Linked DNA regions of Homo sapiens: region 2 is linked to region 1. The links are contacts of gene promoters, found by promoter capture Hi-C in blood cells and fetal thymus (Javierre and others, 2016). All regions are on one chromosome and are shown on one strand. The core of a region is centred on a gene start or on the middle of the fragment in contact, and the rest is flanking DNA. Distances in the headings are between cores, read along the strand shown.

Region 1 (7,644 bases), core at 1,974-4,473:
GATATATGAATGCATAAGCTCCCTCTGACCACACGCAAACAAGTAATTATTCTACTGCTAGCTATACTCGAGAAATGTCTGCCCATCTAGCACTCTGCTAGGCTCTGTGATTAATACATGATAATTGGCAGCGGTGTTTACAAATCAATTTGGAAAATCATGACAAAGACATAGAAATTAATTAGGATTGATTATTTAAAGTAATACAGAAACAAACAGAAAGATATTATAGCCAGTAAGTATATATTGCAGGAAAATATCTAATTTAGGCATCAAGAACAATTTTGAAAGAATTTTAAAGAATTGTTGGAAGTCATTCTAAGTATAATGTAGGGAGATCACAAAGTCTGATGCAACACATTTTGTGGCTCTGGCAAATCCAAATATAAACTACAAGATTTAGCAAGTCATGCGATTTCCTTGAAACTCAGTTTTCTTATCTTATAATGAGGTTTGGACTAGACAAGTTGTACTCCATGGGCGTGGCTGGGGTGGGGGGAAATTAGTTTCCCAGGCAACATATAGGATTTCTGGAGATATTTTTGTTTGTCATACTTTGAGGAGAGGGGTCTGCTAGTGGCATGTAGTGGGTAGAGGTCAAGGACACTGCTCAACATCTTGCAATAAAAAGGACAGCCCCATACAACAAAGAATTATCTGGGCCAAAATGTCAAGGGTGCTGAGGCTGAGAAACTGGACTACATGAGCAAACAATTTCTCACAACTCTTAACACTTTGTGGTTCTTATAGAATGATTTTTCAATCATTAGAGGGCAAAAGAATCACCTAGATATACTAGTAAAATGCAGATTCCTGGACTCCAACATCCAAATATATTAATAGACTAGGTTGTGTGTATGACTAAGTAATCTGGAATTTTAACATGTACACTGTGATTCTATTGCATCTGGGTTCTTAAATTGATTGTATTTTGAGAAACCTTACTAAGACATGCATTAACATTGAAGAAATCAAGGTTGATCCTTGAAAAACAATACCACTAGACATTATTTATTAAGTACTTCATGAGTTATACTCACAAAAGTCCTTTGAGACTTTTGCAAGGTCTCTCCATTTGTTAAAGGCATGGTAGGACTTGAATCCATCTAGTTCTAGATTCAAAGTCTATGCTCTGGCCACTTGCAAATTGCCTCCTGAGAATGGAACAGACTTGGCAAGACAAACAAGCAGCAGATAAAGGAAGTGCATGGGGAAAAAAGAAGACTGAGCAATCTAGAAGAAAGTGTCTCCATTGGGGATTGAAAAAAAAATAAATTGTTAAAGGTAAGATAAGAAATTTCAGAAGACCTTACATTTTAAAAATGAAGAATCTGAATTCTGTCTGGTAGGTTAGTGTTTTTCAGCCCTGGTTGCAGATTAGGATGGCCTGAGATCTTTAAAATACTCCGGATGCTAGGGCTGCAACCCAAAAATTGTGATCTAATTGGTTTGGGGTGGGATGATGCGTCAGCAAAAGTCCTCAGGTGATTCTAGTATGGTTCTAGAAGACCATAAGGAGCAGCTATAACTCATAAGCAGGTGAGAGTCTTGAAGAAACTGTTAACAAGATTAACCTGGTGGTAACGTATAAACTAGATTAGAGCAGTGAATGGAGGAAAGGGATCAGGTAGAAGGCTATTGTAGAAATCTAGGGGTGTGGCAATAAAGACCCATACTAGAGAGATGGATCAGGAATGCTGCTAGAGTCAGGAGACCTCCTTCAGGTCTGCTAATGTTGCTTTCACTGGCCTATCGTATGTCATAAGAAAAGTCACTTAACTTGTCTTTGTCTGCATTTCCCACTAATGCTCGAAGAGCTAACATAGCCCTTGAACATATCACAGCATTAGAGATAATTAAAAGTATTTCAGAAAGTATAATGCACAACACGTGTTTATTATGAAAAAGGTGGCAGTAAAACTGAAAAAAAAACATAGAGACATCTTAGACACATTTACACATTGTCGTGGTGAGACTGATGATCAACTGAAATTGGAGAAGAGAGAATTAAATATACTTCTAAAAGTTCTTGAAGCCTGTGAAACAGGGAAGTTGGAAAAGGGGAATAATTCCTGAAGAAAATCACGTGGGTATAGATAAGAAGTTCTCAACTGGGTCAGTTTTTCCCTCCAGGGGGCATTTGGCAATGCCTGGAGATGTTTTTGGTTGTCATAACTAGGAGGATGAGGGTTGTGCTACTGTCAGCTGGTGGACAGAAGCTAGGGATGTTGCTATAAATCCTATAGTGCACAAGACAGCCCCACACAGTAAAGAATTATCTGGTACAGTATGTCAGTAGTGCCAAGGTGGAGAAACCTAGCATAGATATTACAAACAGTTGGAAGGGACCAATATTCATTATCATGTAAATACATGGATGAATAAAATGAAATTCAGAGATTGAATGACTTAGTTAAGGTCCCCAACGAGTGGAGGCCACAGTAACAGAACTGAAATCCAGCTTTCCTAACTACTAGTCAGTGCTCTTCAGAGCGGCCCCATCTGCCTACTCACCCAACTCAGCCCTGGCCCTGAGTCATCCAGTTTGAGATGCTTGGTACCCAGCTGGGAAGTCTAAGCTGAGGGCTAAGCACGAGGTTAGTGGTGGAGGTTTCCATCCTCGTGTAGCTGTAATAGACCTTTTATTTCCAAGTAACTTAAAGAAATTATAACAGAAGATATAAACCAAGAAGTGCAGAGGAACCCAGAGGGCTCTTGGAGGGAAGGTCAGAAGTGCCAGAATTGTTTTGACCCAGTGACTTTGAAATCAAATAAAAAGGAATGGCACACGCTGTGAAGCGCAGCATCAAAATCAAGTAGGATGAGGCTTCAAAAGGCCATTGGACTTTTTGGTGGAGGTCATGGTGACATTTGGAGAAAAATTTCCATAGAGTTGTTAGGAAAGCACTGGAGATTTCTGAGAGGGAGAGGAGCAATGAGGTGATGAAGATGTGCGGCTAGCATGTTCCAAGAGCTTCCTCGTGAAAAGGAGAAATTCAGGACTTATGGGACAGCAAGGTCAAGTCAAGGATTTAAGAAGGCAAGAGCTTCACCTGTGTTTGCTGAGAGCAGAGGGGACTTTGGCGGCGTTGGATAGACTTGGCACAGACACACAGCGAAGAAGAGCCGCGGCGATGCCGTTCTGTGAGCACTAGATGGCAGTAGCGGGGCCCTTTCGGCTCGGTTCGCGGTCCTATAAGGCGCTGCTTGTTTAAGTACATCGCATTTAGTTGAAGCTGCAGGGGAGTGAGGGAGAGGAGGATAGGAAGCAGGAAAGCGGGAGAGCTCGAGGGACAAGGGGGCTCGGTGTGTTTACACCAGGCACGGGCTACGAGCGTCCATCCCGGCCCCTGGCTTGCGCTCCCGAAGAGGAGAGCAAGGCTGTTCTGGGATCCGGCCGTCGTGCGGCAAGAGGCTTGTCTGTCCGGGTTGCCGGAACCAGGAGAACCCAGAGGGAAACCGAGGGAAAGGAGCGGCGCGTTTTACTAGAGAGAGCGCGAGCGGAAGAGGCGAGAGCAGGAGCGCGCGAGGGAGCATCGAGCGCAGCGGAGACATGAGGACCTACTGGCTGCACAGCGTCTGGGTGCTGGGCTTTTTCCTGTCCCTCTTCTCATTGCAAGGTAGGGGGAGGATTCCCTGACCCCTTGCGCCCCCTCCTCCCTGCCGCCGGGCTCCGGGGTGGTCGGTGGAGTAAGAAGCGCTCCGGTTCTGGATGGAACAGGGTTTATTTACAAGTCCTGCGGTGCGCTCCCTGCCCTGCCAGCTCTGCGCCCAGGCTGGGTCCTGAGGCGTGCGGGATTGTGCGGACAGACTTGCTGCAACATCGGTGTTGATGGGGAAAGAAGCCAGGGCTTGTGTGTGTGTGTGTGTGTGTGTGTGTGTGTGTGTGTGTGTGCGCGCGCGCGTGTGAACGGGGGGCAGGATAGAGCGGCGTGTTTTGTGTGTGTGTGTGTGTGTGTGTGTGTGTGTGTGTGTGTGTCTTGGTGGGGTGGGGGCTTTTGCGCGAGGTGGTGGCGACGGAGCTGGGGTTGCTCCTCTGTAAACTCCAAGAGCCGCGGTGGTGTTCGCTATCCCCGTGTCCCCGGTGCTGATATCACTGCATTCCTCCTCTTTCAGGAGGGAATTGGCATTAAGTTTAGGAGGCTAGGTATCCGCTTGGCACCTGGTACTTGTATCTCTCTGCAAAATAGCCCCACCAGATTCTTCTGCCCCGAGATGGAGGAGGGATGCGGGAGGGAAGGGAACGGTGAGTGGGGTGGGGGGAGGGGGACACGGGGAGGGGGGGAGGAGGAGAAGAGGGAGGGAGGAAGAGAGTGGGGTGGGGGAGAGAGAGAGAGAGAGAGAGAGAATGAATACGAGAATTCACGGGTAATCGCTGCGCTGGCTCATAATGGTCAATGTATTTCATGCTTGCAGGACAAAATTGCTAGCGCTGGGTGTTTACTTTGAAGGGATTGTAGGTTTCTATGTTTTGGGGAGGTTGTAAAATAAATTCATGAAGGTTAAAAATGAAAATACATACATGGTGTTTGCATTTCACTTACAAGCTGGCATCCAGAGCCCTCACTGATGTTAAACATACCTATAATACACGAAGTAATTCCAACATAAAAATATATTATCTTTTTAATCTTCCTGTCTCACTCTTCCTGCTCGTGAGAGGAACCTTGCACAATTAGCCATAGAGAGTCTGTGCTATATTGCTCTACCACTGACGGTTCTACTACATCTTCATGTTTGGGCATTCTGCCATCATTAGGACATTTACCCACGCACATCTCTCATGCTACAGAACACACTCCATTTACACACAGTGTACACATGCACACACAAAGACACATACGCACACACACTGCCTCTCAAGAACACTTGGCATGAAATGACCAGACTGGCAATCCTACTCCTGATTTTTTTCTGACAGCTGGTTGCTAATGTTACATTGGTGGGTTTCATTTTTCATTGCTGGGGGATATTTTGTGTAGCTATAAAGCCCTCTTGCTAAATGAAAAGAGAATAGACTCCCTGGCTGTTTACTGTTGAAGCATTGCAAGGGAATGAATACTATGTCGAAGTTATAGTTTAAAATATGCTTAGGGGAACAGCTGGAACTCACCCATAATACAATTACAAGTTACAGGTTCTAAAAACTTTCTCATCTCAGAACTCACTGACCCATTCCTCTCCTATCTAATTTGTGAGCTCTTGCAATACATGATTCTTCTACTAAGCATGTCTAAATGAAAAATAGAGTCCCAATCTTGCTTTGGCTTTTTACATTTTATTTCTTTACATTTTTTCCTTCAAAGCTCACAGGACTTTCTCTGTGATTTCAGATATTGCTGCAATTCAGCTTTTTCATATTGAGACATTAGCATCGTGACTGTACTATGCCAGCAGCAGAGGTTAATCCCTTTCCTTCCTATTCCATTTAACTCTAGGAATTTAGCTCTTCTGATAAAATGCTAAGAATGATGTCATGAATACATGCTCCTCTTAAGTTTGAGTAAAACTATGGGATATTCATTACTCAGCCATGGGGTCTTATGAGTGAAAGGTACTTCTAAAGGATGAGGAAGGTGTAATGGAACACGAAACCAGATAATTATATTTCAGGAGATCTTCTATTAAAAAAAAAAGCCCCCCAGTCTTTTTCAGTGATAACATAGTAAACTATAGTAACAATTCTCTGAATTTTCTGGTCTCATTTGGGCAAAGCAAATAGCTTTTCCTCCCCGGGAATATTGTTCTTTCTAAAGAGGAGTTTTCAAGATTTTGCTAAATAGAGTTTAGCACATTGTGGGAAGTGGCCTCAGTTCTCAAGCTTTGGGATCCCCCAGTGTGTGGCACACACTAGGCAGCAGTAACGTTGAGTAATGGGATAGGAGAAGAAGGCAGTGCAGCTGGATGAGGCTAAGAAACATGGAGATCACTCGCAAACAACTGCCATACACATTATCTCCTGCCATCATCATGGCAGGGCTTGAACTGTTTCCTGACAACATGCTCTCCTCTCTCTTACACATATGTACATGTGGACACACACGTACACACTCCTCAGTGTCAAAGTATGTGGCCCTTTTGAATTGGCCCCATCCCTTGTTTACTATCTCCATTCTTCAGCACAGTTGCTTCTGCTGTTTCTTACCATTATGTTCATGGATTCACAGATTAATGCTGTTCTTGGTGTTCATTGTTAATTAGAATACATTTGTTCAAGAATGTTTAATGTAAGTACTTGAGGCTATGTGGTTCTGAGGTGGAGGGATATTTACAGAATGATTTGGGCTTGCCCCATGAGAAAAAGACTATTTAGTCTAAGTCATTATTTTGTGACCATGGGCAAGTCGGGCATATATTCTTGAGGTTCAGTAATAATTATGTTCTGTTTTTCATGAATGATATAATAATCATTATCATTATTTTGAAATAGATCATAAAAGATAGCTTAGTCAAGATGTGTTCACATGTGAATAAAAACTATAGTTTTTTCTCTGTTGTTCTTTTTCCAAATATCCTAGAGTACTTTGATATAGTTGAGTATATTCATCTATGCAATGTCCTTGTGATGTTGGTAGGGAGAACTTCTAACCTTTTGTGCAATGACGAGAAGGTTATATAATGGCCCAGCCAGGTTTCATCCTTGATATCCTGGCAACTGTAGTTTATATTAATGACATCTCCATTGATAAAGGGTCTCTGAGGTTTCCAGAAGAAAGTTTTTTAGATATTCATGAGTGTACTAATATCATCAATTTACCTGTAACTTTGATTAAGCAAAGAAAGCAAACCCATACACACACACAAACAAACAAAAAAAACCACTTTTCTCAGGACTTTCCATTTGTTCCCAGCTTAGTTTGAGGTCCTGCTTCATTGGCTTAGATCTGGCCAGGTCTGTTTGTCATCTGGCATCTGTCTCTTCTTTCTCATGCTCCAGATCCAGAGCCAGAGAGCAGCCACTGCTTTGCTCTGAGGTTGGCTCTATTTTCTCCCTTTGGCATATGGGATGGCAGTAGCCCTGTGCCCTTTTGGTACTGCAGAAGAGATGGATTCCACTTGGCCCATCCCACCCCCATCTCTGGTTCACCTGGGCATGAAGGTTTCCTTGGCTTCTGCCTGCAGCCATATTTGGGCTGCTTCCAGGAGAAGAGAAGAATGTAGTGACACTGCAGCAGAGGCAGCTTAGCCGACAAACCCCCAACCCCAACACCAGAAGAGCAGGGAGTGCTGCTGCTGATTAGTGAGGGAGCAGCAGAAATGCCTAGGATGGGAATGTTCTGTCCAACTACTATGAGGCTTCCATTAAGAGCTCTGTCTAAACTGCTCACAGCGGCACTCCCCAGCCTCCTCCCAATAGTTCCAATGAAAACGAGTTGGTGAAATCTCTTTAGAGGTTTTTGACAAGTGCCTCTGCCAAAGAATAAAAATGATACCCTTCAGGAAATATATTTTAGAGTCCAAGATGTATATTGTTTTAATATTAAGTACAATAGCAACTAATTAAAAGATTTTTTCAAGAGGCACTGTCTCTGTCACCCAGGCTGGAGTTCAGTGGCATGATAATAGCTCACTGTAACCTCAAGCTCCCTAGCTCAAAGGATCCTGCCACCTCAGCTTCCCAAGTAGCTTAGACTACAGGCACAC
Region 2 (7,644 bases), core at 2,366-4,865, 640 kb before region 1:
CAACCAGGCAGGTAAGTGAGGTAGACAATTTTCCTCAGGTTTGCATTCCAAATGTCAGCCTTCAAATCATGTGACTCTCCCTTCTATAGACAGACATTTCTTTCTCTTCTCCCTCTTCTGCTGCTTCTTCTTTTCCTTCCACCTCCTCTTCAGCTTTCTCCTTGCATTCCTTTTTCTTCGAATTCTTCTTTTTAAAGATCTAAAGTAGAAGTAGACCCCAGAGTCAGAAATTGTATTCATTATAGGATTGTGGTTAAAGGAAAGCTTTCACAGTGTCTGTGACCTTCGAACTATGCTGGAAAATGGAAGGAGTCATGAGTCTCCTCATGGCAGAGGGAAACTGAGTCTGAGTGCCTTGAGATTTAGATTTGGCTCTTTCAAATCCCTACCGCCTTTGCACCTTAGTAAACTGAGCATGTCCCTGGAGTTCTGTGCTTCCTAACATGCAAAGTAATTATGTGGGGATTATGGGTCACTGTGCCTCTTCTCTGTGGAAGACAGAACCAGAATAGGGCTAAATGCAGCAACAGACATAAAGTTAGCACAAGAGAAGAACCTCATCATCAGTGAGATCTGAATGATTGTGAGTTGTAATAATGGCATAACCATTTTGGTAGCTATTTACAAACAGTCACCTTCATTTTTTATCATAAGTTACAATTGTGACAAGAAGGCAGGAGCCTTGGTTGGGCTTGAGAAACTTTAGAGGCTCAAGACATTCAAAGATGTTATTATTCTGCTAAACAATAAATGGCATACTCCAGATCTGTACTGTTCAGTATGGTAGCCACGAGCCACAGTGGTTGCTGAACATCTATCTGAAGTGTGGCTAGCTTAAATTGAAATGTACTGTAAGTGTAAAATATATACTGGGTTTTGAAGGCTTTGTACAAAAAAAAAAAAAGAAAATTTCAAGCACATTGGTATTTTATATGGATCATATTAGTATGTAACGTATAATATCTTTGATATATTGGGTTAAAGTATATTATTAAAATTATATTTAGTTGTTTCTTTTTGATTCTTAAAAGTGTGGTCACTAGAAAAGTTAGAAAGGCATCTATGGCTTGCATTTGTGACTGGTGTTATATTTCTATCAGACAGTAGTGGTGTGGATCATATGAATTTTCAGTATACACATTTCTTTTAAATATTGAAAAGATATTAAGTCACATATTATATTCATTCATTTTATTAGATGAGTTTCACCAGTGGCTCTTAGGTTTGCCTTATCAGTACAAGGGCTGTGGTGGCAACACCTCTTGGGTGTCACTTCTTGGAAACAACACCTTTTGGGTGTGCATTTTGGGCGTATGCTCAGGAGCATCTGATGGGGCTCTCTCATCTAGGGAGAAGCAAGTAAATGTTAAAAGACAAGTTTTTGCCTGTGGATAAAATATCTTCTTTCTTTTTGAGGACAACATCTTATTCTGTATACTATGAAAAAAATTATATCCTTAAGGAAAATGACAGGAGTTCTTTAGATTGCCAGTTATAAATTGGAGAGTCTTGTCTTGAGACAATTCAGATCCTCATTTCTATTCAGGATTTCTTTTCTGCTGTAGATCATTTGATTTGGTTTGGATCTGTGTCCCCACCCAAATCTCATGTTGAAATATAATTCCCAATGCTGAAGGTGGGGCCTGGTGGGAGGTGATTGAATCATGAGGGCGATTTCTAATGGTTTAGCACCATCCCCCATTGCTGTTCTCATAATAGAGTTCTCATGAGATCTTCTTGTTTAAAAGTGTGTAGCACCTCCCAACCCCTCTCTTCCTCCTGCTCCTGGCCATGTGAAGTGCCAGCTCTCCCTTCGCCTTCTGCCATGAGTGTGAGTTTCCTGAGACTTCCCTAGAAGCCCAAGAGATGCTCCATGCTTCCTCTACAGCCCACAGAACTGCGAGCTAATTAAACCTCTTTTCTTTATAAATTACCCATCTCACGTATTTCTTCATAGCAGTACAAGAACAGACTAATACATCATTCAGATTATTTTACTTGCCTAGATAGCCAATTGGGCTACAAAAGCCATGGCATAATCTTTGTATATTCCTTAAGATTGGATATGGCTGTGACAATACAATTCAACAAATAGGGGCTTTAAAAAGATAGAAGTTTACTTCTCCTCTATATAAAGCAGGGCTGTACAGAGTCCTGAGGTAGTATAGTGGCTTTGTTCCACCGTGTCTCAGGGACCTGGGCTCCTTCAGGCTCCATACTCTGTCAATCCAAGTTGTGGCTCTCTCTCTCTTTTCTAATCCAAGATGACATCTTCTACATTGCAGTAGGTGGGGAAAAGAAAGGAACAAAAGAAGAGGGGCAACATTTGTACAATGGCTGTTTCTTAAAGAGTTAGAAAAACTGCCACATGACAATTGCGTATAAATCTTATTGGCCAGACTTTAGAGTGAGTGGTCATGTGCCTAGCTAAAAATTCTGTGACTATACAAGAAAGATGGAATAGATATTGTGGGACAATAGTCTTTGTCCATTGCATTTTTACACATTGTGGGCATTACTGTATGAATTATGTTATTTAGAGCTCTGCAACATAGTTACTTCATATAGCTTTGTGTAGAAAAGCTGGAATGCCCGCTTTATGTTTCTACTCTGGTTTATGCTCTTCACAGGAGAGTATTTGGCCCTGATCCTTAAGCAAAGACAAGTTATTTCTGGAGAATAGCTGTCATATGTAATATGATATAATGATAACAATACTTTAAATTTGGGAAGGGATGAAGCCATTAACCTGTTAACCTGAGTTTGTGCACTCTGGACACCAGAATCTTGACTCTAATAGTCAGGTAGGGTCTGCCTGATCTCTATTAATATTTAGAGGGGGCCTATTACCTTTGGAATTAATGAATATGACAAAAGGATTTTCTAAGTATGCCTGAACTCACCCTTTAGAATAAGGAATAAATGTAGCTGGTAAAATTACTGGTTTAAGCCTAGGTCAGGCAAGCTTAGGCACATCTTTTTGAATGATGAGACTGGCATGCCATATGTCTTCTGTAGGCATGGAGGTCTGAGGGTCTGAGAAAGGGGCACTGAATATGTATGTATCCATCCCTGCTGTCAGCACTTCGCCACATGTTCGCTGGCCAGGGGCTTTGTGCTGCTGCCAGGAAGGAGTTCCGTATTAGAAGCCACCAAGGTTTCAGAGGAACCTTATATTTTTCTTTTATTTGATTTCCTGGAGCAATTGCTTTTCTGTATACATCTGGTGCTATAATCAATTTCCTATAATTTCATAAACATCTCCAAAATTTGAACTTTCTTTTCAATGGGAGTAACTCGGGAGTTTCTTTCTACAGCTTCTTCAAAAGGACTCTAAACTTTTTTACTGAACACTTTGTTAAAGGACCAGCTTTTACTTTCCCACTTGGCAAGATGATTTTCTTTTATAAATTATTGCATTAAAGCTTTGAAGAAAAAACATTTGTTTAATGTTATATAAGGTATATTTATAGCTTCTTTAAAAGGTCCCCAATTTAACAAATTTGTGTGACTTCACAAGCTTTACACATATTTTCTCAGGTACTTCTCATAATACATGTTAAGAAAATGAGTGGGTTTTGAGTCAAACTAATTTTGGTTTGAATGCTACCTATTTTTGTTAGCTTTGCCACAATTACTAGCTGTGTGTCCTTGGTCAAGTCACTTAACTGTTCTGAGTCTAAGCTGTAAAATCACTTTCCTAAGCTTTATCACACGGGGTTATTGTGAAGATGGAAATATCTATGTAAAGCCCTTAATGTAATGTCCTATATTTAAAAGAACTTCAATAATCTCTATTGTTATCATTTTAGACATCAGATCCTAGTCTACATAACATTGCAGATTTTTCCAGTTTGCACACTCTCAGGTTCCAAAGGGATATTATTTATTGTGAGTTAAAAGCCTTTCCTTTCTTTCCTGCTTTTTTCTATTCTTTATTACTTTCTCCTTAATTTCTTTTCTCCCCTTCCCTTTCTTCCTTTTATCCCCCAAATATCCCATTTCCTGTGATCTCATTCCTAGGGTAAAATATTTCTATTAATCTTGCCTCAGTAGTTCAGTATTTTCCTTATCATCATATCCCTTTGGTGATTACAGGGTAGGACTCCATAACCGGATTTCAAATATTAAGAATGTCGAATCATCATTTCATTTCCAGTCAGCTGTAATGGTCAGTTTACATTTTATAACTTCATAGTGTAGGGGTTAACCTGAGTGAAGCCAGGCTAGGGTTTTCTCCTGCTGTTGAGAAGATCAGATCCTGAGCCTCTTGCACTCTCCTGCTTCTTGTTTCTTTGCCTTGGGGGTGGGGAAAGCAACTGGCAAGTCAAGGCAATGGATGGAGCAGGGTAGGTGTAAAGAGCGAGAGCCCAGGCTCTGCTGAGTCCTGTTGCTAGGCAACCGCATGCAGGAAGCAGACACATGCATATGCCTGCTAGCATCCTGTTGTCTTAGCAACAGAACATTTGGTTGAAGGGCTCGGGGAGGAGGGGGACTGGGTTCAAAATACTCAAAGTTCCCAGCATCTTAGGATATCCCTTCGCCTGAACCCCCATGTCTTTGTTGTCTTAATTTTCCCACATTCACTGAAGCAGAAGGTTCCATCCTTTTTAAAAATTTAGTTAATCACCCAAAATTTGTATGAGGGCTTTCCTCAGAGCTCTACATTACCCAAGTCACATCGCGGTTCATTAGAGCCCATCCACCTCCAAGTCCTCTGGTGCTCTGCGTGGCAGGGCCTATTCTATGGAATTTTAAAATGATCCCCTGCTCTAAGCACAGCCCTGTGGGACAGAAGTTAAACGTTCACTTGTATGGAAATTTAAATTCTGGGGTTTTAGTATGTGAAATGATTCTAAGTCATTATCATCAGCTCCAAGGCTGTCACTTCTGAGCTTTTCAGTCAGTAACAAAGACGAAGGAAAATGAAAGAGAGCAGGATGGCCTCCTTTTTCTTACTGGTCTATACGTGATGTTCAGGAATTATGGCATTCTGTTCTATCTGTTTGCCTATCAGTCTTTCCCACTTGACCATTCTCCTCTAAGTGTTGGGGCTATGTCTTTTTCATCTCTGGATTCTTCTTTTCTGCCACAGTTCCTGGCACATAGTAGGTGAATTTATTTAATAGATGACCTGGGAACCCATACAATGTAAAAATACTTCAAAACTATGCAGTGTGGTGCATAAATATTAGTTACTATTTCTGCATGCCTGGCTCTAATATTGTGCCCTTTGATCACTAGATTAGACTTTCTTATTCCTGAGACCACCTCCTGCCTTTGGACCCCAAGGTTAATTACTAAATCCCTGTCTTGTTTTCCAAAATCTTATGCCCTGTTTTGAATACCTGTAGTGCCTAATTTCTTATGGTTGAAACCTTAGTTTTTTGTTTTTTTTTTCTGTATTCCCCAGAGACCTTATAAACCAGCCTTACAGCTGAGGTGCTGTCTCTAGCCTTCAGATTTTCCCAATACTTCTTATTAGCTACTCTGCATTTTGCTTTATTCTAAAACCTCCGCCATTTTGTTCCACCATTCCACTGGTATATCTGTAATCACAGGATCTCTCTCAGGTGATTTGCTTGTCTTGGCTCCCACCTGTTGTCTATTACTGCATCTTCCATGAATGCTTACTACCCACCTGGGGAAGCACTTAATTTTAGATCTTTCTTCACTGCAGCTAATTCTTCTATTTTGGGATGTGTCTGGTGTGATCAGAGTACTTTCTAATCACCTTCTCTAATATGATCACAGTAAACTTGGCCCTGAAGCCTGCCTGTTATCCCATGTTATTTCTATTGCCCTTCACAGGGGATTGCACACTCACTATGGAAAAAAAAAAAACCCCACCAAACTGTCCTACAAAATGATCTAATTAAGAAATTAACTATTTACTGACTTGTGCTATCATTTAATTTTTAATAGGAAACATATATGCACTGAAGTAGGAAAAAAACAAAAATTTTAAAACCCTATTCAATGTCCAGTGTAGGGTTAAGCACACAGTATCCAATTAGAAAATGTTTAAAATTAAATTGAATTCGGTTTTAATATTTACGAGGGAGTTACAACTTTCTTTTGCTAAGCCTTTGAATTTCTTCCAATGAAGAAGTTACCATAATGTGACCCAGTGTCTCAACGAAATTAGTAGGATCTGAAATAGCAGAGGAGAGACCAGTTCTCTTTAAGCGGTGTGTTGACTTTACACCAGCTTTACATTTGATTCTATATGCCCTGAATTGGGGGGCATCTTCAATGTATTTGGAATTTTTAAATCTGGCAGGCCAGAAATCCAATGGCCCATTTAAGGAAAATTGTAACCTAGAAAACTGAAATTCGTATAAACCATAATCAAGCCAAATAACAGAGATCTTCTGATTCAACCTTTAAAAGATATCCCTATCTTATCTATCTATCTATCATCTATCCAGTGGTAAGAAATTTCTTCACTGGAGTCAATAAAAAAAAAAAGACACACTATGTGCCAGCATGCCATTGACCCACTGATAACCGAAGTCTCTAAGAGAGGGAGACAAAGCCTGCCACAGCCTCTGCCAGGAAATCCTATTGCTCACTTCTGCACTTCCTTCTCTCTTCTCATTATTCCACTGGGATAGATCCTCACTGCAGGTTTTCGTAATCCTCCTTCTAGAGATTCAGCAGCTATGCCCCCTCCCACCAACCTTGTTTGTAGCACATATTAGCTCAGAGGTAAGTGCAAAGTTTGCATCTTATACCTAATCACATCCCCCAAAGGTGGCAAGAGGTGGGGCAATGCAGAGTCAGAGCAGGAGAGACATCAATGCTGCCTATGTAAGGATTGGTCTGGGGACAATCAGAGGGAGGGAGGTTTTTCTCCCTTAACATTGTCTAGAGGACTTTATTTTGCAGAAATTCATTTGAAAGAAGGAGGTAGAACAGCTCTGATATTGCTTGTCATGAACCTCAATCTATAGAAACATAACAAAGGCTCTTCTCATCTGGATGCTCAGGTACATACAAAGGTGGTGATTCCAAAGAATTAGAGCAAACAAGCTGGAGCTGGAATCTGTCCTGTTATAAAAAATCTGTTCCGCCCAATCACGAGAATGTATGGGTCAAGGTTACAGCCAATGCCTGCAAATCACCACCGTGTGTTTCATTGAAGAAAGTGCCCTGCTCAACCTCAAATTCTTATCTTTCAAATGATGAAGAAAATGTCACCTTATGGACATCATCAAAATCTTCTTTCTGTAATTGAAATGGAATTAAAAGTGATTTCCTTGGTTTACAGCAATAGCTATAAAATAAACCAAGCTGTCTCTTTGTTTATTCTTCAGAAAAGTGAAACACTTGAGTTACAAGGAATAATCAGAGACTAATGCCAAGACATCCCTGAGAGTCCTCCAGAATGATGGAGAACCACATTCCATCTCTCTAAATTGGGAGCATATTGTAGCTTTGCAGCATAGCAATAGGAGGTATCTTTCTGGGTCATGGCTTGATGTTGCAGAAGTGGCAGTGGAGCCTCCAAAATCCCTGCCTTCCTCATCCCTTCCAGCTCCACAGGGCTCTGGAGAGGCAGACAAGGTTCTGCAATGCTCACCTCAAAAACAGTGCTGTAGGAAGCACTTGGCGGGGTACTGCAGTCATAAACACTCCGGG

The links. The method cuts DNA at HindIII sites, captures the fragments that hold promoters and counts their contacts. A CHiCAGO score of 5 or more calls a contact.
Region 2: a fragment that was not itself captured here is called in contact with the fragment with the promoter of LINC03051 in region 1 in 1 of 17 cell types (erythroblasts); the score reaches 6.3 in erythroblasts.

Annotation. Positions count from the first base shown.
Region 1 is chr3:117,993,158-118,000,801 of GRCh38, reverse strand. LINC03051 (long intergenic non-protein coding RNA 3051) reads left to right here and starts at 3,223. Exons shown (of 3, transcript NR_182298.1): 1 at 3,223-3,620. RefSeq lists an enhancer at 3,006-3,552. The HindIII fragment of the contact is 6,554 bases long and covers 1-5,823 here.
Region 2 is chr3:118,638,492-118,646,135 of GRCh38, reverse strand. The region is part of intron 2 of LOC105374060 (a long non-coding RNA gene); the gene reads left to right. It overlaps LOC101926968 (a long non-coding RNA gene), which reads right to left and starts at 4,368. Exons shown (of 2, transcript NR_135573.1): 1 at 4,212-4,368; 2 at 1,979-2,274. The HindIII fragment of the contact is 185 bases long and covers 3,523-3,707 here.